Regions from separate parts of the Homo sapiens genome. Here all the other regions are linked to region 1. The links are contacts of gene promoters, found by promoter capture Hi-C in blood cells and fetal thymus (Javierre and others, 2016). All regions are on one chromosome and are shown on one strand. The core of a region is centred on a gene start or on the middle of the fragment in contact, and the rest is flanking DNA. Distances in the headings are between cores, read along the strand shown. Region 1 holds the start of EXT1 (exostosin glycosyltransferase 1). Region 2 overlaps LOC105375724 (a long non-coding RNA gene). Region 3 overlaps EXT1 (exostosin glycosyltransferase 1). Region 4 overlaps EXT1 (exostosin glycosyltransferase 1). Region 5 overlaps LOC105375724 (a long non-coding RNA gene). Region 6 overlaps EXT1 (exostosin glycosyltransferase 1). Region 7 overlaps EXT1 (exostosin glycosyltransferase 1).

The links. The method cuts DNA at HindIII sites, captures the fragments that hold promoters and counts their contacts. A CHiCAGO score of 5 or more calls a contact.
Region 2: a contact is called between a fragment that was not itself captured here and the fragment with the promoter of EXT1 in region 1, in 2 of 17 cell types (fetal thymus and endothelial precursors). The highest score is 6.2, in fetal thymus.
Region 3: a contact is called between a fragment that was not itself captured here and the fragment with the promoter of EXT1 in region 1, in 14 of 17 cell types (M2 macrophages, monocytes, M1 macrophages and 11 more). The highest score is 17.6, in M2 macrophages.
Region 4: a fragment that was not itself captured here is called in contact with the fragment with the promoter of EXT1 in region 1 in 2 of 17 cell types (monocytes and endothelial precursors); the score reaches 8.5 in monocytes.
Region 5: a fragment that was not itself captured here is called in contact with the fragment with the promoter of EXT1 in region 1 in 1 of 17 cell types (monocytes); the score reaches 5.1 in monocytes.
Region 6: a contact is called between a fragment that was not itself captured here and the fragment with the promoter of EXT1 in region 1, in 2 of 17 cell types (monocytes and endothelial precursors). The highest score is 9.5, in monocytes.
Region 7: a fragment that was not itself captured here is called in contact with the fragment with the promoter of EXT1 in region 1 in 1 of 17 cell types (monocytes); the score reaches 7.1 in monocytes.

The regions. Positions count from the first base shown.
Region 1 is chr8:118,110,374-118,113,843 of GRCh38, reverse strand. It overlaps EXT1 (exostosin glycosyltransferase 1), which reads left to right and starts at 2,018. Exons shown (of 11, transcript NM_000127.3): 1 at 2,018-3,470. The coding sequence starts at 2,798. RefSeq lists silencers at 1,596-1,975, 2,076-2,165. The HindIII fragment of the contact is 5,337 bases long and covers 1,225-3,470 here.
Region 2 is chr8:118,345,491-118,348,960 of GRCh38, reverse strand. All of the region lies in intron 4 of LOC105375724 (a long non-coding RNA gene), which reads right to left. It also overlaps a transcript of SAMD12 not described here. Among named protein-coding and RNA genes, the nearest start is that of EXT1, 240 kb to the right of the region's middle. The HindIII fragment of the contact is 6,948 bases long and covers 1-3,470 here.
Region 3 is chr8:117,885,271-117,888,740 of GRCh38, reverse strand. All of the region lies in intron 1 of EXT1 (exostosin glycosyltransferase 1), which reads left to right. Among named protein-coding and RNA genes, the nearest start is that of SNORD168, 34 kb to the left of the region's middle. The HindIII fragment of the contact is 186 bases long and covers 1,650-1,835 here.
Region 4 is chr8:117,928,847-117,932,316 of GRCh38, reverse strand. All of the region lies in intron 1 of EXT1 (exostosin glycosyltransferase 1), which reads left to right. Among named protein-coding and RNA genes, the nearest start is that of SNORD168, 9.7 kb to the right of the region's middle. RefSeq lists an enhancer at 952-1,509. The HindIII fragment of the contact is 2,208 bases long and covers 399-2,606 here.
Region 5 is chr8:118,291,569-118,295,038 of GRCh38, reverse strand. All of the region lies in intron 4 of LOC105375724 (a long non-coding RNA gene), which reads right to left. It also overlaps a transcript of SAMD12 not described here. Among named protein-coding and RNA genes, the nearest start is that of EXT1, 180 kb to the right of the region's middle. The HindIII fragment of the contact is 3,735 bases long and covers 1-3,400 here.
Region 6 is chr8:117,950,854-117,954,323 of GRCh38, reverse strand. The region is part of intron 1 of EXT1 (exostosin glycosyltransferase 1); the gene reads left to right. Among named protein-coding and RNA genes, the nearest start is that of SNORD168, 32 kb to the right of the region's middle. The HindIII fragment of the contact is 5,777 bases long and covers 1-3,470 here.
Region 7 is chr8:117,968,111-117,971,580 of GRCh38, reverse strand. The region is part of intron 1 of EXT1 (exostosin glycosyltransferase 1); the gene reads left to right. Among named protein-coding and RNA genes, the nearest start is that of SNORD168, 49 kb to the right of the region's middle. RefSeq lists a silencer at 1,537-1,596. The HindIII fragment of the contact is 378 bases long and covers 1,441-1,818 here.

The DNA.
Region 1 (3,470 bases), core at 769-3,268:
GGGCTGGTGGTGCACACCTGTAATCCCAGCTACTCCGGAGGCTGAGGGAGGCAAATCACTTGAATCTGGGAGGCAGAGTTTCTAGTGAGCCGAGATCCTGCCACTGCACTCCAGCATATATATATATATATATATATATATATATATAGAGAGAGAGAGAGAGAGAGAGAGAGAGAGAGAGAGAGAGAGAGAGAGAGAGCACCTCCAGTCCCACAGCCCCACTTCACAGGGCTGAGATAATCTGCACCCTGATCAGAAGAGAAGGCCTCCTGCCTTGAACTGTTGTTCTTAGCAACTTGGGCTGGGGGGAGCTTTGGGTCACATGTGGTTTCAATCACTGCCTTTATCTGCATCATTGTCACTGTATTTGGAAGATGACTGAATCCTTATTCCTGTCCCAGGCCTCTCTACATTGTGCAGGGGGTTCAAGTCAAATCTGGAAAAGCTGTCTCATCTTTGGCAGGTCAGAAATAGGGAGAGGCTTCACGAATGTATAGTAATGTCCCACCCATGCCCCTTCCCTGCTTTATTAAAACAAATCTGAAACAACAGAGGTCTGAAACTTTCCACTCTATCATTTCATACTGCCTTGTTATAACCCTGCCCTTCATCCACACCCCGCTGGGGTTTTTGCAGCCTGAGGGAAGCCGGGAAGTGTCTGCTCCTAGCTCTCAGTCACTCCCATAATAAACAATCACTAAACAGCCGGCTGCCCTAGGCAACTGTCTAGCTTGCCCGAGCCCTGAGACTTTAGCTAGGCCAGAGGGTGGGAGGTGTTTTCTGTAAAGCAGTGTTCAGGATCTGAGGCCAGGGAGTTTGACTTTGACCAGAGATACTGTTTGGGAGCCTAGCACATCTTTGTGGACCTGGAGGATCTTTAGCGGGACTGCTCCTCGGTTACCTGAGTTATCTAATGAAGTTCTTCCACTGGGAGTGGCAGGAGCTTGGGCCAAGGAGTGGGAGGTCAGTGAGGGAAGGACCAACTATTTGGCACTAATTGTACATAAGGTAGTTTTCCTGATGCAAGTGTTCCTTCTATAGCTGGGACAGTTGGCAATTCTACCAGTCATATGTCCTTAAGAGATATCTTTAACACCACCACCACCACCACCACCACCAAGAGAATAACATCACTTTGAGGACTGGGGCAAGCTTAAATTAACTGGTTTCCCTGCAGCCATTAGAAAATTTATTTTTTCTCTGTGATTGGATCTCTTGGAAGCTTTCTTCATAATAGACAGAGGGGGCTCAGGCAAGGCGGCCTAAGTAGATAATGAGGATTTAGGATAGCCGTCTTACACTCTTAGCACAGAGGCAGGCATGAAGAATTGCAACAATTCCTCTTGATTGTAATAATTCCTCTTTATTGTTGGGCATTGGGGTGTTTCTTTGGTTTAAAAAAATGTGCTATGTAGAGGAGGAGTAAGGGGAGATTGTTTTAATGCTTAGCAGAAAATTGAAATACTGGGTCTCGGAGAGTGGAAGGAGGGCTGGGAGAGGCAGCTTTCGGATCGGCGGTCGCTTTCTATGAAGTCTTCCTTTCCTCCCTGCTTCCCTCCTTCAAAGCATCTTTCTCTAGGCGTTCCGGCAGGCAGCCCAGGAGGCCAGATTCTCCAGGGCGCCCGGGGCCGCGCGGCACGGGGCCCCTGCCGGTGCCTCCTTCCCCGGCCGCCGCGTTTCCGCAGGCGCCTCTGGTCCCCGGCACGGCGCAGGCCGAGATCCGGGCCTGGGCGCGCCGAGGGGCCGCGGGGCTCGCACCGGGCCGTCCCGCGCTCCACCTGCCCGGCAGCCCGCCGGCAGCTTGCAACCCGGGAGCCCCGGCTCCCTGCGCCCCCTACGCCCCCAACGCCGCGCCGGCGCCTCGGCCCGCGGCCGGGGGTTATGAATGGGCGCAGCGGAAGCACCGCCCCCCCCGGACGTGACGCTCGGCCAATGGCAGCGCGGGCTGCGTGGATGGATGAGGTCAGCGCTGTCGTGTCGGGAATGGAATGTGTAAGTGTAACATTCAGAACCGGGTAACATTCGGCGACCGAACGCGGCGGTCGGCAGCGTTCGCGCGGGGGCCTGCGAAGCGCTGCTCGGGGCCGGCACTGCCCGCGGGGAGGACGCGCCGCCGCCGCCACCCAGCGCCGCCGCCGCCGCCGCCTCCAGCCGGGCCGCCGCGCGTCCCGGGGGCCGGCCCCGCGAGCGCAGGAGTAAACACCGCCGGAGTCTTGGAGCCGCTGCAGAAGGGAATAAAGAGAGATGCAGGGATTTGTGAGGTTACGGCGCCCCAGCTGCAAGATGCACTAGCCGGCTGAACCCGGGATCGGCTGACTTGTTGGAACCGGAGTGCTCTGCACGGAGAGTGGTGGATGAGTTGAAGTTGCCTTCCCGGGGCTCATTTTCCACGCTGCCGAGAGGAATCCGAGAGGCAAGGCAATCACTTCGTCTTGCCATTGATTGGGTATCGGGAGCTTTTTTTTTCTCCCCTCTCTCTTTCTTTTCCTCCGTCTTGTTGCATGCAAGAAAATTACAGTCCGCTGCTCGCCCGCCCTGGGTGCGAGATATTCAGCCCCGCTCTCTCCCGTGCATTGTGCAACCCAAAGATGAAAGACCGAAGGGGAGAAAGTTAAAGAAATCGCCCACATGCGCTGGATCAGTCCACGGCTTGGGGAAAGGCATCCAGAGAAGGTGGGAGCGGAGAGTTTGAAGTCTTTACAGGCGGGAAGATGGCGGACTGGAGCTGAAAGTGTTGATTGGGAAACTTGGGTGATTCTTGTGTTTATTTACAATCCTCTTGACCCAGGCAGGACACATGCAGGCCAAAAAACGCTATTTCATCCTGCTCTCAGCTGGCTCTTGTCTCGCCCTTTTGTTTTATTTCGGAGGCTTGCAGTTTAGGGCATCGAGGAGCCACAGCCGGAGAGAAGAACACAGCGGTAGGAATGGCTTGCACCACCCCAGTCCGGATCATTTCTGGCCCCGCTTCCCGGACGCTCTGCGCCCCTTCGTTCCTTGGGATCAATTGGAAAACGAGGATTCCAGCGTGCACATTTCCCCCCGGCAGAAGCGAGATGCCAACTCCAGCATCTACAAAGGCAAGAAGTGCCGCATGGAGTCCTGCTTCGATTTCACCCTTTGCAAGAAAAACGGCTTCAAAGTCTACGTATACCCACAGCAAAAAGGGGAGAAAATCGCCGAAAGTTACCAAAACATTCTAGCGGCCATCGAGGGCTCCAGGTTCTACACCTCGGACCCCAGCCAGGCGTGCCTCTTTGTCCTGAGTCTGGATACTTTAGACAGAGACCAGTTGTCACCTCAGTATGTGCACAATTTGAGATCCAAAGTGCAGAGTCTCCACTTGTGGAACAATGGTAGGAATCATTTAATTTTTAATTTATATTCCGGCACTTGGCCTGACTACACCGAGGACGTGGGGTTTGACATCGGCCAGGCGATGCTGGCCAAAGCCAGCATCAGTACTGAAA
Region 2 (3,470 bases), core at 395-2,894, 240 kb before region 1:
GAAATTAATGGTGCCTCTTGGCCTGTGACAGTCTGTGTTTACTTCCTGGAATTGGCTTCTGGCTTTGATTGGCCTTGAGTGTCAGGGCTTCCTCGGCCCAGGTGGGCCAACTCCACTTGGGACTGTTCTGGTTCCCTCAGGCTACCTTTGTCTGACCAGCTCATCCTATAGTCTCTGAAGCCACAGGATTGTTGTCTGTGCCTTCCTGTGATTCATAGCACGGAGCAAAGGATCAAAACAGCTTGAGCTGGAAATAACTTCATTTACTTTTTTAAAAAAGTAATAAGCGGGCCGGGTGCGGTGGCTCACGCCTGTAATCCCAGCACTTCAGGAGGCCGAGGTGGGCAGATCACGATGTCAGGAGATCAAGACCATCCTAGCGAACACGGTGAAACCCCGTCTCTACTAAAAACACAAAAAAATTAGCTGGGCGTGGTGGCAGGCGCCTGTAGTTCCAGCTACTCGGGAGGCTGAGGCAGGAGAATGGCACGAACCCCGGGGGGCGGAGCTTGCGGTGAGCGGACGTCACACCACTGCACTCCAGCCTAGGCAACAGAGCGATACTCCATCTCAAAAAAAAAAAGTAATAAGTGGTCAGGAGCAGTGGCTCACGCCCGTAACCCCAACACTTTGGGAGGCCGAGGCAGGTGGATCACTTGAGGCCAGCAGTTCGAGACCAGCCTGGGCAACATGGCAAAACCCTGTCTCTACAAAAATTTAGCCAGGCATGGTAGCACATACCTGTAGTGCCAGCTACTTGGGAGGCTGAGGTGGGAGGATCACTTGATATTGGGAGGCAGAGGCTGCAGTGAGCCGAGAGGGCACCGTTGCACTCCAGCCTGGGCCACAGATTGAGACCTTGTCTCAAAAAATATAAAAAATAAAAATGAGTAATAAACACAGTTGTAGCAGTTGATGTGTCCTAAGCACTGTTCTTGTTTTACAGGTAAGGAAACTGAGACACACTAAGGTTAAGGAGCTTGCTATACAGCTGATCACTGGCACAGCTGGGAAACTAGCCCCGGCAGTCAGATTCAGTGCGTGCAATGTTAACCCCTGACTGTGCCACTTTGCCATGCTTAGAGGTAGCCTAGTTCAACCTCTTATTAGATAAGTTATTCTATAAAAAAGCTCTTAACACACAGTAAGAGCTATGTAAGAGCTAGTTATTATTACTAGTGTGTTTGATGATGGTGAAAACTGAAGCCAGACAAGTGATGGAAGTTTATCCATTTAGTCCAGGATTTCACAAATTGTATTCTGTAGAACATTTGTATCAACAGGATGTTATAAGTGTTCTTTTTAAAAAATATTATAGTCAAATAGGTTTGGAAAATATACATTTAAAAAACAGCCTTTTATAGTGTAGTACTTCTCAAACCCTTTAATATGCTAATATGCATTATTAATCTTCAAAAAGCTGTAGTATCCAGACTTTTCCCACCTTTCCCCACATTTTACACATATTTGAGACCATTGTGGAGAAAGCAGTTAACATAGCAGGCCTTAGATTGTTTTCCTTAGAAGGTTGTGATTGCAAGGTTGGCCCCTGCTGGTGTCTAGAAAACTTGGGTTTTGGGAGGGTTCCCACACTCCCTAACCAGAATGGTTCACTGTGCCTGAACTGTTTGTATAAACAGTGTCATTTATGCTGAACACCTGCTTTCCTTCTGGGAGCCTAGAATTTTGGCACATGCTAGGAAGGATCCCCACTAAAAACCTTGGACACTGAGACTGGGCCCAGTGGCTCATGCCTGTAATTCCAGCACTTTGGTAGGCCAAGGCAGGAAGATCACTTGAGCCCAGGAGTTCAAGACCAGTCTGAGCTACACAGCGAGACCCTGTCTCTACAAAGTAGTTTTAGAAAATTAACCAGGCATGGTGGCACGTGCTTGTAGTCCCAGCTATTCAAGGTGGGCCATGGGGGTAAAGGGGTACTAAGGCAGGAGGAATCCCATGAGTCCGGGAATTCGGGGCTGCAGTGAGCTGTAACTGCACCACTGTACTCTAGCCTGAGCAGCAGAGCAAGACCCTGTCTTTGACAACAACAGCCACCTTGGCCACTGAGTCTCTGATGAGCTTGCCTCATAGACATTTCACATGTGTTGTCACAACTCCTTGTTAGAGGAATTCAACACATCCTGTATGACTCTACTAAAGGAAGGACTCTTGTTGGCTCATGCCTGATTTTCTCTGGACTCTGTCCCAGGTGCCTTTTCCCTTTGTTGATTTTGCTTTGTATCCTTTTGCTATAGTAAATCTTAGCCATGAATACAACTATATGCTGAGTCCTGTGAGTTCTCCTAGTGAATCGCAGAACCTGGGGTTGCTCTTAGAGACCCCCTGTCACATCCAGAAAATTATTTCCCTCTCAATGCCGTTTAACATCTCATGGGTCATTTGTTCTACAGCATGCAGCCCTGAGGAGCTGTTCAATCCCACAAGTTAGAGGCAGACATTAGCCCACATAATTATTCTGGGCTTTTGGTGAAAAATGTTAGGGTTCCGAAGGCTCATGTGGAATAGCACTTTCTTCCTGCCTGGGACACATAGATTGAATATATATTGAGAGAGCAAAACTGACTAGTACATTTCTACCACCTTTCTGGAATATTCAGTTGGGAAGGATAAGCCTGGAAACAGTAGCCTCAAGACATAACCATCCTTTATGTTCTTCCATTTTTAGATTTAGCTCTTTAGCCCATATTAAAATTATTTGTATAAATCTATATTACCATGTGTATGAAATTATAATAAAATTACATATATAATTTATATAGTTTTATAAAGTTTGTTTACTACATCTAATCAGAAAACCCTACTAAAGGGATTATATGGCTTTTGGGGCCTCATGCCGGAGCCTGTGACATCCCTCGATAATTATGATTTCCCTGAGTTCATTTTACAGAATAAACAGATGCACCAAGGGTCTCCAGAGAGCAAGTAGGCTGCTGCGGTGCAGGACAAGCCAAATGGAGACGGTGGTTAGCCCCAGCATCTGTTCTTTCAGCACCTTTCCTGGTACTCCTCCTCCTCCACATTCTTCATGGCTGACTTGTCTTCCTTTTATGTGTTTTCCAGATGCCAAAAGTTATATTTGCATATCCTCTACCATGGGTGGGGAACTGTGTCTCCTGCAGTCCAGCCGGCTCCACTTTACTCCCCTACTTTGTATGCCTAGACTAACCTACCCTGTCCTTTGACCTTGTTTTCACTGCTCTTGACCTGTTGCCAGTTAATACAATCTTACTCCAACAAGCCACCAGGGACTAGTTGGTTTAACTGGCTCCTTGCCCCATTGGCTAGTTGGACAGATAATTCTCTAAGCAGTTTGTCTTCCTCACTGTCTACACCCCACGCTTATGCTGCATCATGCCTTCATTTATGTCTTTCTTCTATATCTTTGTCCTTTTTGACCTCTCCAAATCCCAGCTCAGGTTCCACTCTGTCCTCTGAGAAATTGGCCCTCC
Region 3 (3,470 bases), core at 493-2,992, 220 kb after region 1:
GGTGGAACTCGAACAGATCTTGAATAAGCAGAGAAATAGGGAATCCCAAGAGAGTCCACCGTAAAGAGAAACATCAGCTTCTGGCTTCCTTAGATGCCATGTTTTAAGGGCATTTAGCTAAAATCTGAGATCAGAAAATGGTGAGGTTCCTGGGTGTCCAGCAAGCATTCAGCTTTCTCTAGGCCATTTATAGAACACTTAACTAACCCATGTTGTCCTTTCTAGGATATATATATATATAGTGGTGTGACTCTATGTGGCAATGGCCTTTGGGGTTTTGCAGAATGAGAACTATTATATTACTTTATTCAGCCGATTTCCCAAGCTGTTAAGCAACCAATTTTGAAGATCTGAAACTCATGCTGTCTCCATCCACAAGGACCATGAATCTATATGAATGTAATTGTTTTATTTAATCTATTATTATATCATCTATCATTTTTATTTTCACCATAATCTTGACACAGTTCATTATAGCATAAAATGATAACCTCTGTGAAAATGACTTCATGTGTATTTCTATGAACTGCATGTTTGTCTGGGTTCTGCAAGTCTGCAGACTTTTTGCTTTTACTATGTTCTTAAAAATTAGTGGTCTGAGAAGAGGCATTATATTTATTTATTTATTATTAATTATTATTATTATTATTATTTTTGAGATGGAGTTTCATCTTGTTGCCCAGGCTGGAGTGCAATGGCGTGATCTCAGCTTACCGCAACCTCCACCACCTGGGTTCAAGCAATTATCCTGCCTCAGCCTCCCGAGTAGCTGGGATTACAGGCATGCACCACCACACCCGGCTAATTTTGTATTTTTAGTAGAGGCAGGGTTTCTCCATGTTGGTCAGGCAGGTCTCAAACTCCCGAGCTCAGGTGATACGCCCGCCTCAGACTCCCAAAGTGCTGGGATTACAGGCGTGAGTCACCGTGCCAGGCCCGAGAAGAGGCATTATATTTAAATATAATAGTCTTATTGTATTTTATCAGTTTCTTGATAATAATCCTTTAAATTATGGATATTTGATCAAAAAGAGAGGTCAGATAAGCAATGAGAAAGAGAGAAACTAATGAATAGAAAGAGTAAGAAAGGGGGCTGGGCATGTTGGCTCACACCTGTAATCCCAGCACTTTGGGAGACCAAGCTGGGCAGATCACGAGGTCAAGAGATCGAGACCATCCTGGCCAACATGGTGAAACCCTGTCTCTACTAAAAATACAAAAATTATCTGGGCGTGGTGGCACGCACCTGTAGTCCCAGCTACTCAGGAGGCCGAGGCAGGAGGATCGCTTGAACCTGGGAGGCGGAGGTTGCAGTGAAATGAGATCGTGCCACTGCACTCCAGCCTGGCGACAAAGTGAGACTGTGTCTCAAGGCAAAAGAAAAAAGGGTTGAAGATGTTCCTGGAAACATGTTTTGCTTGATGCAAACTCCTTACAAAATATTTTTGGAAAATTTCTCCTGCCTTAGTCAAGGAGAAGGAAATATCTCAGAGTCACGTAAATACTATTCTGAAAGACCTACCTAAAAAAATAATTGGCCAATAGATATCTTAGAAAATTAAGGTATGGTCTAGAACATAAACATAACAATATTTGTTATATATTACAAATAAAAGACAAAGGTGATCCCATTTTATGACAAGAAAGCTTTCTTGGTTGAACTGTTAAACAGAGGCTATATCGTCAATGGCATGCCTACTATGATTTATTTCATTCCTGTTATATAGATGCATATTAAGGTACAGAAAGATCAGTTATCCTGCCAAAAGTCACCTAGCTGGGAACTCATAAAACTGGGATTCAAACTCTGGCCATCTGACTTCAGATTCTAAGCTTTTTTTCTTTTTTTAAATCTTAAGCTTTTAACCTCTGTCCTATATTATTTGGGTTTTCCAGCTAGGAAGATTGAAGCCCTTGAATAATTTTGCCCATTTAAGCACCACTTCATAGCAGGTAGAAACCACCCCTTCTGAAATTGACAAATGGGAATGGACATAATTGCCTTGAACATGGAATGAGACGAACAGGCAGATGGCAGAGATCTAGGAGTTTCTGCAGGATTTTGCCCAGTGGTGGCTGATGACTGGGTAAATATCTAGTTTTTATCTCTAAAGTGTAGCTTTTCTTTGGAATTTGACATTTTGGTGCTTAGCCAACTTGCAGGAGAATCATCCGTCACATAAGTTGAGTAGTGTGGCAATTTGTTTTAGTAGCTATTTACTAAGTCAACAACCTAACTGCTTTGTCTTTGAAAGTAGGAGTATTCATGCTCATTTATATTTGGGGGACATAGCAGGTAGCACCAAGTATTTGTGTCATCAAATTGACTGGCATGCCACTTGTGTAGTAGTATTTCTAGTAGAGCTCCCACTGGAATGGAAAGAAACTAACAGAACACTGGAACCCTAGTGAATAGCATTCACCATGAGAATGAATTCAGTGCAGTATAAGGTGGTTTCCATTTTGTACTACATCAAAGAGGATTTAATTCCTGAAATACCAAAAAACAAAACAAACAAACAAAAACTTTATTCTGAAGCCAGCTCATTTACAAGGTACAATTTTATATATACTGCTATTTTTGCTATTTTTTGCTATTTTTTGATCTTTATATGTCAGGTATTTAGTAAATATATTCATCTCATTCGTGAAGTGTTTATTATTTGTTCCATCGTATACATTTTAAAACTGAGATTCAGGGAGAGGTCACACAATTGGCTTGCACACAGTCATGCAACTTTTAACTGGTATTTGAAACCAGGTTCAATAGGCTCAAAATTCTAAGCTCATTCCACCATACTCTAGGATCTCCTGCCAGCCCTTGATTAAAGGTCAAAGGGCCAATGTCCACTGGAGCAGTCCACAGAAATGCTGGCTTTTACAGAGATAATGGAGTTGGGAAGCCCCCAGGTGTACATGTGGATTATAGTGACATATGAGAGAAGGAAAAAGATTAATGAATTCTTTCATAGGATATCTACTAGGGAGAAGCTCTAAATTTCCTCAGAATATGTGAATGGCTATCAAAAATACAGAGACAGGACAGGAAGAAAAGTCTTGGTGGAACAAGTTGGTAGGAGTCTCTTGAAGAACTTCAGTATCACATTTTAAGCCAAGAAATAGTTTCCCCTCCTCTAATGGTATGTTACCATTTTGTACCTGTAGGAGGCACTGACATGTGTCTTCATCACTGTGTCTCAAAGATGACATTCTAGATTTCTTTCTTTCTTTTTTTTTTTTTTTTTTGTCTGTTACTTTCCATTTTCAGGGAAAAAAAAATCTATTTTAGGGTTTCCTTCTCCTCCCCTGCCAGTACGGTTAATATTGCCAGAACAACTTTAGACTTTAGATATTAAGAAACATTGGCTTAATATGACAATTTGATTTTGCTGTTAAATTTACATGTAAATCTCTAGGCAAGTTCCCATCTTTTGATATTTACTTAAAATATTTACTTTCACATGTATACA
Region 4 (3,470 bases), core at 253-2,752, 180 kb after region 1:
ATTGCTCCCCAGCCAGCATTTGGTTAAGTTGAATTCTGATTATCCTTAACCTGCAAGCAAAGCTTTGAAGTTCCTAATAACTTTTCTGTTCAATAGTTTTCATGCTTATGTAAATAGACACTCTAACATTTAGAAGTTAAAGCACCCCCCCAAAAACCTCAAATATATAACTTGGCCTGAGACTCTATTTTTCTACTGCAAAATTCAATATGGACAATTGAGTTTTAGTAAAACTACGTAATTTCGAATTGAAATAATTTAAATTGCTTTTGTTTTAAAAAATTTGTATTTGTGCATAATAAGTTACATTTCAATAAAAATAAAGTAAATGCATTCACTTGACTTATTTTCCGCGTGGGCATTTTCTTCTTCATATATGGTCCATAATTACTTAAGCTTGAGACTCACTGCTTCGACTTGCAAACAGAACATTTCAAGTGATCAAAAATCTAGGACCCAGAGGGAGTGAATGCACAACTTTAGGATTCTGACCTTAGCTGCAATAGAAACCTTGAGTGACTTTTAAGGCTATGATGTCCTGGTAAAGAAATATACCTAAAACATAGATGGATATGATAAAGTAATGGAATTTTGCATCATGCAGCTATTCTCTGCCAGCATGTCCGGCAACAGACATCTTTGGAAGCATATTTTTGAAAATAGGTATCCTCGTTCTCTTCATATCATTTTATTATTGATCTCTGAAAGACTGATAACCTTGGTAAAACAGCCAGCTCAATGTGTAGCCAATAACCACGCCTAGGTGTCTGGCTTCCCCCTCTCTTATTCCCACCTCCCCCTTTTCCATCTCCTTCTCTTCCTCCTTCCCTCCCTCTCTCATAGACCTCCCACACCCCCGCCCCACACAAAATATATATATCATTGTAGTTTATAATTTATAAAGATTTATCAATTGCTAATATATCAGTTATTTATTTATTTATTTTTATTTCTAAGCATGCCTCCTTTGAAGGGCATATGTATGTCTGTGTGAGTATATACAGGAAATGTATCCATGTCTGGAAAGGGGCCTCCATCTAGACGCCAAGTGAGAGTTCTTGGATCTTGTGAGAGAAAGAATTCAGGGCGACTCCATAGAATAAAGTCAAAGCAAGTTTATTAGGAAAGTAAAGGAATAAAGAATGGCTTTCCAAAGGCAGGGCAGCCCCGAGGACTGTTGATTGCCTATTTTTATGGTTATTTCTTGATTATGTGTTAAACAAAGGGTGGATTATTCATGAGTTTTCCAGGAAATGGGTGGGCAATTCCTGGAACTGAGGATTCTTCCCCTTTTTAGGCCATATAAGATAACGTCTTGGCATTGCCATGGCATCTGTAAACTGTCATGGCATTGGTGGAAGTGTCTTTTAGCATGCTAATGCAATACAATTAGCATATAATTGAGCAGTGAGGATGACTAGAGGTCACCTTTGTTGCCATCTTGGTTTTGGTGGGATTTGGCTGGCATCTTTACCGCATGCTGTTTTATCAGCAAGGTCTTTGTGACATGTATCCTGCTGATCTCCTATCTCGCCCTATGACTAAACACAACTAACCTTCCGGGAATGCAGCCTCCTAGTAGGTCTCTGCCTTATTTTACCCAGCCCCTACTCAAGATGGAGTCACTGTGGTTCAAACACCTCTGACAAATCTGTCTGCCTGTTGGAAAGGACTTTGTCAACTTGTCATGTTACTTATATAAATATAGAAATATGTATTTAAAACTTGATGGACACTTCACCATCACACTCTCTTCTCCTCTCCCACATCACTCTAGCACTGATCCATTTTTAGAAAAGGTTTTTTTGGGGATGGGGGTTGACCAGATGTGGATATTTAGAGATAAGTCTATAATCTTCCAACTGTAGAAGTCTTTATGTCTTTGAGTCTTGCTTGTGTGTGTAAATGTCCTATTTTTTTTTTTGATATATGAATAAAGTAATTAATTTGCATTTAGTTGCTTAAGCCTGTCTTCATAGCCTGGGGAGAAATGATGGCTGACACTTGTCATTCTCCACCCTTCCGCTCCCCACATTTCATTTGGTACTTCATTTCTTCCTCTTGAGGTGTGAATATCTCAAGAAAGATGTTGACTGGTCCCACTGGTTGGGATGACAATGAGTGATAGGTAGTCTTGCACTTCTTGATCAATGACAAGATCACCCATTTGGCAAACTCTTCCTCTTCTCTTCTGTCTTTATTTTTTTTTTTTTGAGATGGAGTCTCTCTCTGTTGCCCAGGCTGCAGTGCAATGTGCGATCTTGGCTTGCTGCAACCTCCGCCTCCCAGGTTCAAGCAAGTCTGCCTCAGCCTCCCAAGTAGCTGGGATTACAGGCATCTGCCACCATGCCCAGCTAATTTTTGTGTTTTTAGTAGAGATGGGGTTTCACTGTGTTGGCCAGGGTGGTCTCAAACTCCTTACCTCAGGTGATACGCCTGCCTTGGCCTCCCAAAGTGCTGCGATTACAGGTGTGAGGCACCACGCCTGGCTGCTCTTACACTTTTCTATGAGACACATTACAGATAGATGCCCATATTGAGATACATACCCATATACGGATAGATATCCATGCTGAGAGAAGCATGTTAATCCGGCTGTGAAAGCTTTATAGTTAGGAATTTCTGGGAAGATCTTCACCTTTGGCATACTCCTTCAGTCTCATCCCCTATGTCCCTAATAGAAGCAGTAATGGGGAATCTGTCATGATGACTTACTAGAAAAATCTATTGAGCCTGCTTATGATTCTTTGGTTTTGGAGGAGGAGGGCACTAATTTTCATTGGTTCATTCATTCAAAAATATTAAGTTCCTACTCCATGTCTAATAACTGCCTTTCTGGCTAGTCTGTGAGCATGGCAACGGACGGATGATGTCTTTTGTTTTCTGTTGTGTCTCTGATGTCTTTCACATTGAAGAGCAGGGAGGAAGTGCTCGTATCATATTTGTGCCAGAGTGAGGAGGAAGAGGGAAGCACTCAGAGCTGACACTTCCTGTGATTTAGCCTTCTGCCTGTGGATCATCTTTTCATCTTTTTTGAGCTCATGTTAGTTTCTCTACTACCTGTGCGTTTCTTTACCTTCCTTGGAGTATTTCTTCCTTGAGCTCAGTGTTGCAGGCACTGCTTGGTCAGGCTTAGCCCATAGACAGAAAATACTTATTGAGTACTTACTGTATATATAGCACTCTTCCATGCACTGTACATGTATGAACTCACTTGCTCTTTCCAGCAACTTAGGAGATGTGTGTCTTCATTATCACCCCAATTGAAGAAACTAAGGATGAGAAAGGATTCAGACTTAATGCAAATGATCCACTATCTGGGAAGCTATTTAATCAACCTGGGCTCAATTATTTCTGTTTTCTATTTGGCCGTGGGCTTTTGGGTTGTTTGTTTTAGTGGGCACAGAACTCAAGGTCCTTGGCTTTTTCATGCCCTTTTTCATCGGTGTCGTAAGTACTTGCTCCGTAAG
Region 5 (3,470 bases), core at 284-2,783, 180 kb before region 1:
GTTTGTTTTCTTCTTTCTAACTGCCAGCACTGTGAACTAAAGCGGGATCCTCCCCATTTCCTTCTCCATAATTATATAATACAGTTCCTGCTTTCTAAACTTTGTTGACAATTCTGTTGACAGTACACACAGAGTAAAATACATCCCAGTCTTCCTTAACTAGATGAGCCTAATCACTTGTAAAAATTCCCGTTAATCAGATTAATGTACCCAGATCCAAGCAGATGCTCAGAGAGCACATAACAGGAGAAAGGATGTACGAAGTATCACTTTTCGTTGCATGACCCTACATGATTCTTTTTTATTTTCTGATTATTGACAGTAGATGTGAGATAATATTTATACTCTGCATATTGCAAGAATTTTAAAAAATATTTTACTTTTTATGTTTTCATCCTTCTGCTTTTACTAAGAAGTTAAGTTCCTGTTTATCCCACCACTCAGTCCCTCTTACAAATACAGTTTTGTGTGCTGGCCTATTCATAAATTATTAATGTCACACTGAAAAATACCTTTTGGAAATGGACCCCCTGACATAAAACTATTGGTGATTGAGGAGCTTCAGGGCACGTGAAGCACTCCCAACCCGACTGGTGAAGAAAGCTGCTGAAGCTCTTCTTCCTCTGGTGAAACAATTAACTTTATGTTCCATTTGCTGATGACGCCGCATGCCTAAATTGATCATGTTTTTTAAACCCATGCCAGTCTTTTCAGCCTGCTCAGCTCAGGGGAAAGTCAGGATGTACAGTCAGGCTCCAGTGCTTTTGGGTAGAAGTGAAAAGATTTGCACTCATTGAGCAAGAAAATGGCATTCCTGGCTGTCAGTGTGGAAGGAAGGGCTTTTCTCTCCAGTGCTGCATGGCAGACTCTCTGCTCTTGTCCCTGAATGTCAGCTCATGCCTCATTGCTAAGTAAGTGTTTTCCCCACCTAACCTGACAGGTAGGTGTCTGACATGACAGCAGGCTGCCATCACACTGGGGAGCAAGGATACCCCAAACTTGGAGCCAGTTCTGCTAAGCTAAGTCAGTTTTGCTAAATGTTACTTTGATTTCAGTGTATTATTAGCTTTGAGATATGCCTTGAGTGCCTTAGAGATCCAGTGTGAGAATGGTTCGCTAGAGCTGGCTTCTGTCTGATGACTGGTAAGGGGTACCACATTTTTCCCACTGGCATTCCAACCCCTTCATCTCTTCCTGCCACATCTTATCCATCAATGGGAATCAGGTTTTGCCAACAGACTGGTTATGAAAGGAGTTGGGATTCCTTGAAGAAGTGAGCTTTGAGCCCCGAGAGTAGGGGATATCACTTTGAGAACTATGACCTGCCTGTACATTGGGGGTATTGGCATTTTGCATCTTCAGCTGGCTTCTAGCAACATACATCTGGTTCCAATTTTCACCACAGTGTTAAAATTTTTAAAAAATAAGTAAATAAAGGCAAACTGGCTATGGTAATCCTAAAGAAGATATAATTTCCTAAGAACATAAATTGCTGAGGAAAACCATGTATTTTTAAACCAAATATAAATTGACTTCTGTATGTTTCTGTTTTCAATGTTATATATTGTCTTTTCATTAGCAAATATTGGTTAAATGCCTAGCCTGTGTCACCACTAATGTGGGCAAAAAAAGACATTTTTCTGGCCCTCAAGAAGGTAACCATCAAAGTAACTTTCCCTTCAGTCATCATGAATCATCAGAGTTGGTTGTATTAAAAATCCACAGCTGAACACTTTACACTCACTATTTTATCTTGTCTAAATCTCCCTGTTGTAAATTTCAGCATCTCTTGTATAAACTTAGGGGACTAGGTCTGGGTAATCCTTAATGTATCTGGAAAACATTCAGCTGGTTTCTGCCATTAGCACTTATGTGGTCTTAGAGATGTTGCTTAATGTTTCTGAGCTTCAAACACAGCATAAGAAAAAAAAAATGCCCAATTTGCAAGGTTTGTTATTGATTTTTTTTGTTTGTTTGTTTTTTTATTATTATACTTTAAGTTTTAGGGTACATGTGCACATTGTGCAGGTTAGTTACATATGTATACATGTGCCATGCTGGTGCGCTGCACCCACTAACTCGTCATCTGGCATTAGGTATATCTCCCAGTGCTATCCCTCCCCCCTCCCCCCACCCCACCACAGTCCCCAGAGTGTGATATTCCCCTTCCTGTGTCCATGTGATCTCATTGTTCAGTTCCCACCTATGAGTGAGAATATGTGGTGTTTGGTTTTTTGTTCTTGCGATAGTTTACTGAGAATGATGATTTCCAATTTCATCCATGTCCCTACCAAGGACATGAACTCATCATTTTTTATGGCTGCATAGTATTCCGTGGTGTATATGTGCCACATTTTCTTAATCCAGTCTATCATTGTTGGACATTTGGGTTGGTTCCAAGTCTTTGCTATTGTGAATAATGCTGCAATAAACATACGTGTGCATGTGTCTTTATAGCAGCATGATTTATAGTCATTTGGGTATATACCCAGTAATGGGATGGTTGGGTCAAATGGTATTTCTAGTCCTCAGATAATGGAATGAAGACTAAATAAAGTCTAGACTAGCCAAGAAGTAGAACTAAATAGAGGTAGCTATTATTATATTGTTGTTTTTTCTATGAATCTGTGAACACTGCCTTTGATCCAAGGTCTCCGGAATATGTGTGTGTGTGTGTGTGTGTGTGTGTCTGTGTGTTTGCAGTTTTGGACATTACTTTATTATTATTATTATATTGTTTATTTTTTCATAGGTTATTGGGGTACAGGTGGTGTTTGGTTATAAGAGTGAGTTCTTTAGTGGTGATTTGTGAGATTTTGGTGCACCCATCACCCAAGCAGTTTACACAGCACCGTATTTGCAGTCTTTTATCCCTCGCCCCCTACCCCCTCCTGCCCTTTCCTGCAAGTTCCCAAAGTCCATTGTATCACAGAATGCATTTTAGTAGGCTTACCAAGATCCCCTGATTCTAGCATGCAGCCATTTATAATGGGCAATAGAATTCAATTTCTAAAGCATCGCCTTGTAGCACTTTTCCTCTTTTATATACTCACAAGCAGAAGCACAGATAAGAAAAGAAACATACTATTTGCTTTCACCAGGTGAAACAGGAGCATGCTTAGGATCCATTGCTGAGTGCCTAACAGGGTGTTGGCAATGAGTCAGCTGCTTCTTGTTGCCCTGATACCTCCTTCCAAAGTCACTCTATGGAAGTCACTCTATGGAAGTAACTTTGGGAGGAGGTATCAGGGCAACAGGAAGCAGCTTGTGGCTTCAACCGAGAAAACACATGACAGTTTACATGGGTCTTTCATGTTCCTCTAGCTTTTCTCTTCTGTGTTAGAAAAATGACAGAGATTTTTCTGCGAACTAAATAATAATAGATGATAATAGGGAAGCTTCAGGAAGTTAGTAAATATTTCCCTTCAGAGCTGAGGACTGGCAGAAACCAGGCCCCTGAAACATCAGCC
Region 6 (3,470 bases), core at 605-3,104, 160 kb after region 1:
TTAGGAGCAAGAGACTTTCCTGGAACCCGTTAGTGGACTTCCTCTCTGCTTCTCTGTTTAAATCATTCACTGGCAGAATAGCAGTACCCTGGATAGCTAGGGCAGTCAGGAGCCATCCCCTGAGGGGCAGTCAGAGCTGGGCTTCCATTAGTCGCGGGTCAAGCAAACAGCCCCTGGGAAGAGAGGAGATACACAGGAGAGATTCTTCTAGAAAGGAAGAACAAGACCAGAAATGGATTACTGCAGCCTGTTTCCTTAGTTGTAAGGTGGAGATAATAATAGCACTTAATAAGATTATTGTGAGAACCGGATGAGTTAATACATATAAAGCATGCAAGACAGTGCCAGGCACATAATAATCTTTCGGTAAATAACAGTTTTTTTATTTTTATTTTTATTTTTTCTGTTGTTGTTGAGGTGGAGTCTTGCTCTGTCCCCCAGGCTGGAGTGCAGTGGTGCGATCTTGGCTCACTGCAACCTCCGCCACCCGGGTTCATGTGATTCTCCTGCCTCAGCCTCCCGAGTAGCTGGGACTACAGGAGAGTTTATTTGTTAATACATTGTATGTATTATTATTATGACAATATTGAAGGCATCATAATATATTGGTTTTATAAGAAATGTTAAAGAATGGGAGAGGTGATAAAACAGTTGCAGGGATGACCCAACTACATGGCTGCATAACACACTCTAATCTGAAATGGGAGCAGAGGCATCATTCACTCTCAGTAATTTGGCGCTGGTTGTTTGGCACATTGAGTCATAAGCATTTGAGTCTTCCACGGTGGCACTGTCACCATACATGTGACCCACAGATTAGATACGAGATAGGTGGAGTGGAGAAAGCAGAGTAGCTGAGAGAGTACTTGATGAGGCTGTTTGCTTCATTGGGGCTCACAGTGCTAAGAAAAACCATTTGCAGAATCATGGGAGCAGAATGATCATTTCTCCTATAATCTGGGGTCCCAGCCTTTAGGATGTATCCCTATTCAATGTAAAACACTAGGTTTTATTCAGTGAATGGCAGTCTAGCATGGTTATGCTAGCTGAATGGTCTTATAGGGAAAGATTATAGCAGATATATGTATATATATGTATATCTATCTATCTAACTATATATCTCTATATAATTGGTATAGTTGGCTAAGTGACAGCTGAGGAGCCAGCTGGATCAGAGTTCAAAATAAGGTGACAGTCTACAAATCCCTGGAAGACTGGAGCAACAAAAGAGGGAATCGTTATTTGGACACAGTGGGGAAAGTGAATGAAAAGAAGAAAGGCAAATTAATTAAGATAATTAAAACACAGACATTCTTGGCAATATTGAAAGCTATTTAATATTTGGCTTTCTAACTCTACTATTCAGTCATTTACAAAATATGGCTTATAATATGTCAATTGATGAATAACCTTTATTTTACTATAAAATTCATGAACTTCTTTGGTCTACACAAATCCATCTTCCATTTTCCATGGCTTACCTCATTTAAGCCAATGCAAAACTGAAAGTGGGGAAAAGAATATTGAGGCTTTATTATGAAATGCCTTCTCATCCACTTTTTTTTTTTTCAGTCTCCCTGTGTTGCTCAGGCTGGAGTGCATTGGCATGATCTTGGCTCACTGTAACCTCCGCCTCCTGGTTCAAGCGATTCTTGTGCCTCAGCCTCCCAAGTGACTGGGATTACAGGCATGAACTACTACACCCAGCTAATTTTTGTGTTTTTAGTAGAGACGGGATTTCATCATGTTGGCCAAGCTGTACTCTTGACCTCAAGTGATCTGCCCACCTTGGCCTCCCAAAGTGCTGGGATTACAGGTGTGAGACACTGCGCCTGGTGTCTCACCATATTTTTTGAGGGTTGATTATATTTTCCTTCTAAACATAGATTCCTTAAATGACTGTCATTCTCATCTTCCTTTTTCTGCTGTTTAGCAGGCTACCTGGAAGGCAGTACTACTCTGTAAATGTTTGCCGAATAGTTTTTGAACAAGTATGAACCAACTATATTTTAAAAGTAATTTGACACTAACTTTGTATTCAGATAACATTGTAGTATTTCATAATTTATTACCTATACCAGTAATGTGTATGCTATTTAATAAAGACAGAATGTGGTGATGTGTATTTAAAAACAGGATTTTTATGACTGATGTGTGCTGGGTGATTTTCCTAGGGTAATTACCGAATTAGTTCTTTTGGAAGCCACTAGGAGCTGTGTTTTTATGTGTTCTGATACTAATAATTTCTGACATTGGTTTAATTTACTCTTATGTTAGATAAGGTCCAAACCATCTAAACCAGGGTCAGCAAAATAGTTAATATTTTTGGTCTTGTGAGCCATATGGTCTCTGTCACAACTCTTCAATTCTGCCATGGTAGCTTGAAAATAACTATAGATCTTACATAAATGAGTGAGTGTGGCTGTGTTCCAATACAACTATTTAAGAACCTGAAATTTGAATTTCACATATTATTCTTCTGTTGATTTTTTTTTCCTAATGCTTTAAAAGTGTAAAAATCATTCTTAGCTTGCAGGCTGTACCAAAACAGGTGGCAGGCCAGATTTGGCCATGGGTTGTAGCTTATAGACCTGACATAGTCCACGTCATCTATTAAGTGTGCTACCAGCAGAGGAAGTGGTCTACATAAAGAGGATAATTTCTAAATCAAGAGTAGCCAGAAGAGTGGCTTGTATATAGTCATTTGTCTATGTCTCTATCACAGTCATAATTCCTTTGGTTCTTGTTATTTGTCTTTTTCCATAGGCAGCAGGTATCTTCCATGAAGGCAGAGCCATGACTCATTCTTCCCTTGTGTTCCCAGGGTCTAGTTTGTATGAATGTATGAATGAATACATGAATCAAGTTTACATCTCAGAAATTGGTGCTGTGGTTACTGAATTACAAAATATGAAATGTCTTTTGAGAAAATCACAAAAACAGGAGTCTGCTTATGCCATTATCCCATTTGCTGTGAGACCCTGAACCTATATTCTCACTTTCATAAACAGGCTTTGTATAACATGTGAAAGATAGATGAGTAAAAGAGGCCAATTTAGGTAGGGAAATATACAAATCATTTCAGAAAGACTTCCATTCCTATTGACTCCTGGTTGCCAAGTTATTTCTGTTCTTCCCTTAAAATAACCAGTCACGATAACACTCTAAAACATTACCTCTTCTCTCACTTTCTCCTTTTACAGAGGGATTGATTAGCTCTCAGAAAAGGTTTCCATAAGGAAATGATCTCAAATACAATTAGGTTTTTTAACTAATGTGTATTCATATTATTATTTCTGACATTGATTTAATCCTTATCTTATTTGGGGTCCAAAAATCAATAAGGCTCCCCCCAAAATATAATTTGCCTCTTTGGTTATAAGTATAGAAACTTACAACTTTTAAAAAAAAAATTTTTGTTTCTTCATGGAGTACAATGTAGAAAGCCAGTACAGTCCACCTGTTAAACA
Region 7 (3,470 bases), core at 380-2,879, 140 kb after region 1:
CTTCGAATTTAATCTTCATTAATATATAAAGCTCAAAGAGTAATGTCTTTTGACCATGAGTAGACTGCTTCTCTAATTTATCTTCAAAGTTGCTTTTTTTTCTTCCTGTAAGTTTCTGTAGTCCCCTTGACTCCTAAAAGTGAGTGTCATGGAGTGGCTTTGATCAGGGAACATACATCAGTAACTGTTTTGTGACCTTAGTCCCGGCTGTGTTTTATGGCTTGGCCAAAGTTTATCATATAATTTCCACTTTAGGAATTTGCCCACTTACTAAGGCTTTGAGGGCAGGGGAGGTGAAGTAGTATTGTGGGAGAGGAGTAATAAATGTGTTTTCTTTTCAGTTTCTACAGTGAGTGGTCTGTTTTGAAATGAGTGCAGGTGGTTGCAGTCCACTCCCTCCCCAAACAGGACAAATTAAGATCATTTTGCTCTTTCGGGAAGCTGAGGGCAAGCCTGCACAGGTGAGGTCACGAGAGGCAAGCTATGTGCACACCTGGTGTCCTCGTGCTTCTTGGGCAGGCCAGCTCCATGCAGTGCAGTGCCCCTGAAGGGAATGGGGCCAGGAGAAGACATAACAGGGCATGAGGATCTTCTCTGTGCCAAGAATCATGCTAGGTAACCCCCCTGAGATTTCTCATCCTCTTGAGAATCCTGTGAGATGATCCTGCTGCCCTTATTTTTCCAGATGGAAAAACGGATTACCCAGGATTCACCGCTTGTGAGTGGCAGAAAGTGGCAGCATTAGAACTGCTGCACTCCATGGATACATCCAGCACATGTGCTCTCCTCTAGTGTGTGATTCCGGTTCATTTAAGTCAGATTTTGGATTCCACTCAATGAAGTTTGTAACTGCTAAGTTGTGATGTGAGCACTTAGATCACCAAGAATTTCAACTAACCCACTATGCTCAAAGTGTGGTCCATGGACCAAGTACCTTGGAATCCCTTGAAAGCCCCTGTTGAAAATTCAGATTCCTGGCCGGGCATGGTGGCTCACGCCTGTAATCCCAGCATTTTGGGAGGCTGAGGCAGGCAGATCACAAGGTCAGGAGTTTGAGACCAGCCTGACCAATATGATGAAACCCCATCTCTACTAAAAATACCAAAAAAAATTAGCCAGGCATGGTGGTACACACCTGTAATCCCAACTAATCAAGAGGCTGAGGCAGGAGAATCACTTAAACCTGGGAGGCGGAGTTGCAGTGAGCTGAGATCACGCCACTGCACTCCAGCCTGTGTGACAGAGTGAGACTCCGTGTCAAAAAAAAAAAAAAAAATGTAGATTCCTGAGCCCTGCCTCAAACCAATTAGGTCAGAAGTTCTGGGGGTACAGCCCAGGTGTAGGTTCTCTGGGAGAGTCTGTCATGCACTAAAATTTGAGAGTCATGCCATAAAACCTCTTTATAGTGCTCCAGTATAAAAAAGATCTTGGGGTTAAGCTTAGCTAAACAAATACGTCTGCAGGCTGGCAGTTCATGAATTCCACCTAAAGACTATCTGGTTTATCCCTCATTTTACACAAAAGGAAACTGTGGTTTAGAGGGTTGAAGTAACATGTTAAAATTCTCATGGCTTTTTTGTGGTAGAGCAGACACTAGAATCAGTTCTCCTTCCTCCGGTCCATAGCTGGCTGCTTCTAATCTTTTAAAAATCAGCTAATCAAGGTAACTTGGATCCATTTCAATCCTGTCAGTGACCCTACGTTCAATATAAAAGATGAGTCCTGGGAGAACTGCCGTTCTGATTCACATTCATCTGAATGTTGAAAAAGTGCATTTCTTCAGAGTGCTCTGTAGGAGGTGGAAATATTCAATAAGCTTGCGAGAAAGGTTTCCATCTCAACCACACCATGTGTGCATGTGCATGCACATACACGCGTGCGCGCGCACACACACACACCACTGCCACCACCACATAGCTCAGATCTGTCACAACATGAGGGAGGGGACTCGCAAACATGCATAATTTATGCAGGATTTTCACGGATTTTTCAGTATTTGGAAGTGATTTCTTAAATTATACATTGAAACAGCTCCATAAAGATGAAGCTGGAGTTAGTTTCACAATAGCCTTAAAAGTGAGAGAATTTGCGTCTCTGGGATCAATGTGCATATTTCAAAGTGAGACGTTTCACTTTATAGAATTTAGAGGGTCTCAAGGCTGTGGTTGACATTTTTAGTTTGTTGGGCTAAACAACCATTTGCTATACAATACTATGGAAACGAATGGTGGAAGAGATTGCCCTGGAAAACTCTGTTCAATTCCGTTAAGAAATATTAAATTCCTGAGGACAATCTACTTGTTTATTATTTTCAATTTCTCTTAAAATAGTATAAAAGGATCTTCTTGGGTGGCAGTACAGGGATGACAAGGAAGGGACCAAATCTCAGTTGTTCACATTTTTACTTAGTTTGGATTCCAAATAATGGGGCTTCTCATAAAAGATTTGGACCCTGCCCCGAGGCTTTTGGTAATAAATGTGGCCGCTTTGTTTTTTTCCCTAATTATTTCATTCGTAAAAGTCTTATCTTCCCAATAAAGATGGTAACTCCTCTGGACTGGGTCTGCTTTTCGCATTTTCCTTCTTTTATATACCACCATGGTATAGAACTTATTTTTGCTTAATAAACAGTTTGGACATCAGGAAGAGACAGAGCTGTATACAATAGGTAGTTTACAGTCAAATATTTACTGCTTTAAATAAGGCAGAATTGGCTGGGCACAGTGGCTCACGCCTGTAATCCCAGCACTTTGGGAGGCCGAGGCGGGCGGATCACAAGGTCAGGAGATCGAGACCATCCTGGCTAACCTGGTGAAACCCCGTCTCTACTAAAAATACAAAAAATTAGCCGGGCGTCGTGGTGGGCGCCTATAGTCCCAGCTACTCGGGAGGCTGAGGCAGGAGAATGGCGTGAACCCGGGAGGTGGAGCTTGCAGTGAGCCGAGATCAAGCCACTGCACTCCAGCCTGGGTGACAGAGTGAGACTCCGTCTCAAAAAAAAAAAAAAAAAAAAAAAAAAAAAAAAAATAAATAAATAAATAAATAAATAAATAAGGCAGAATAAGTAGTATTTAATTAGAGCACAGACTTTGTGGTAAGGCAGGCCTGAGTTTGAACCTCAGCTGTGATACTTATTGCCTCATTTGAAAAAAGTAAATTTTGGCCAGGCATGGTGACTCACACCTATAATCCCAGAACTTTAGGAGGCCAAGGAAGGAGGATTGCTTGAGCCCAGGAGTTCAAGACCACCCTGTGCAACACAACGAGACCTTTAAAATTTCAAAAAACTACTAAAAATTTCAAAATAATTAGCTGGGCACGGTGTTGTGTGCCTGTAGTCACAGCTACTGGGGAGGTTGGGGTGGGAGGATCGCTTGGGCCCCCGAGATGGAGGCCACAGTCAGCTATGATCATGCCCCTGCATTCCAGTCTGAGTGACAGACCCTGTCTCAAATAAAAAAATTTTAAAA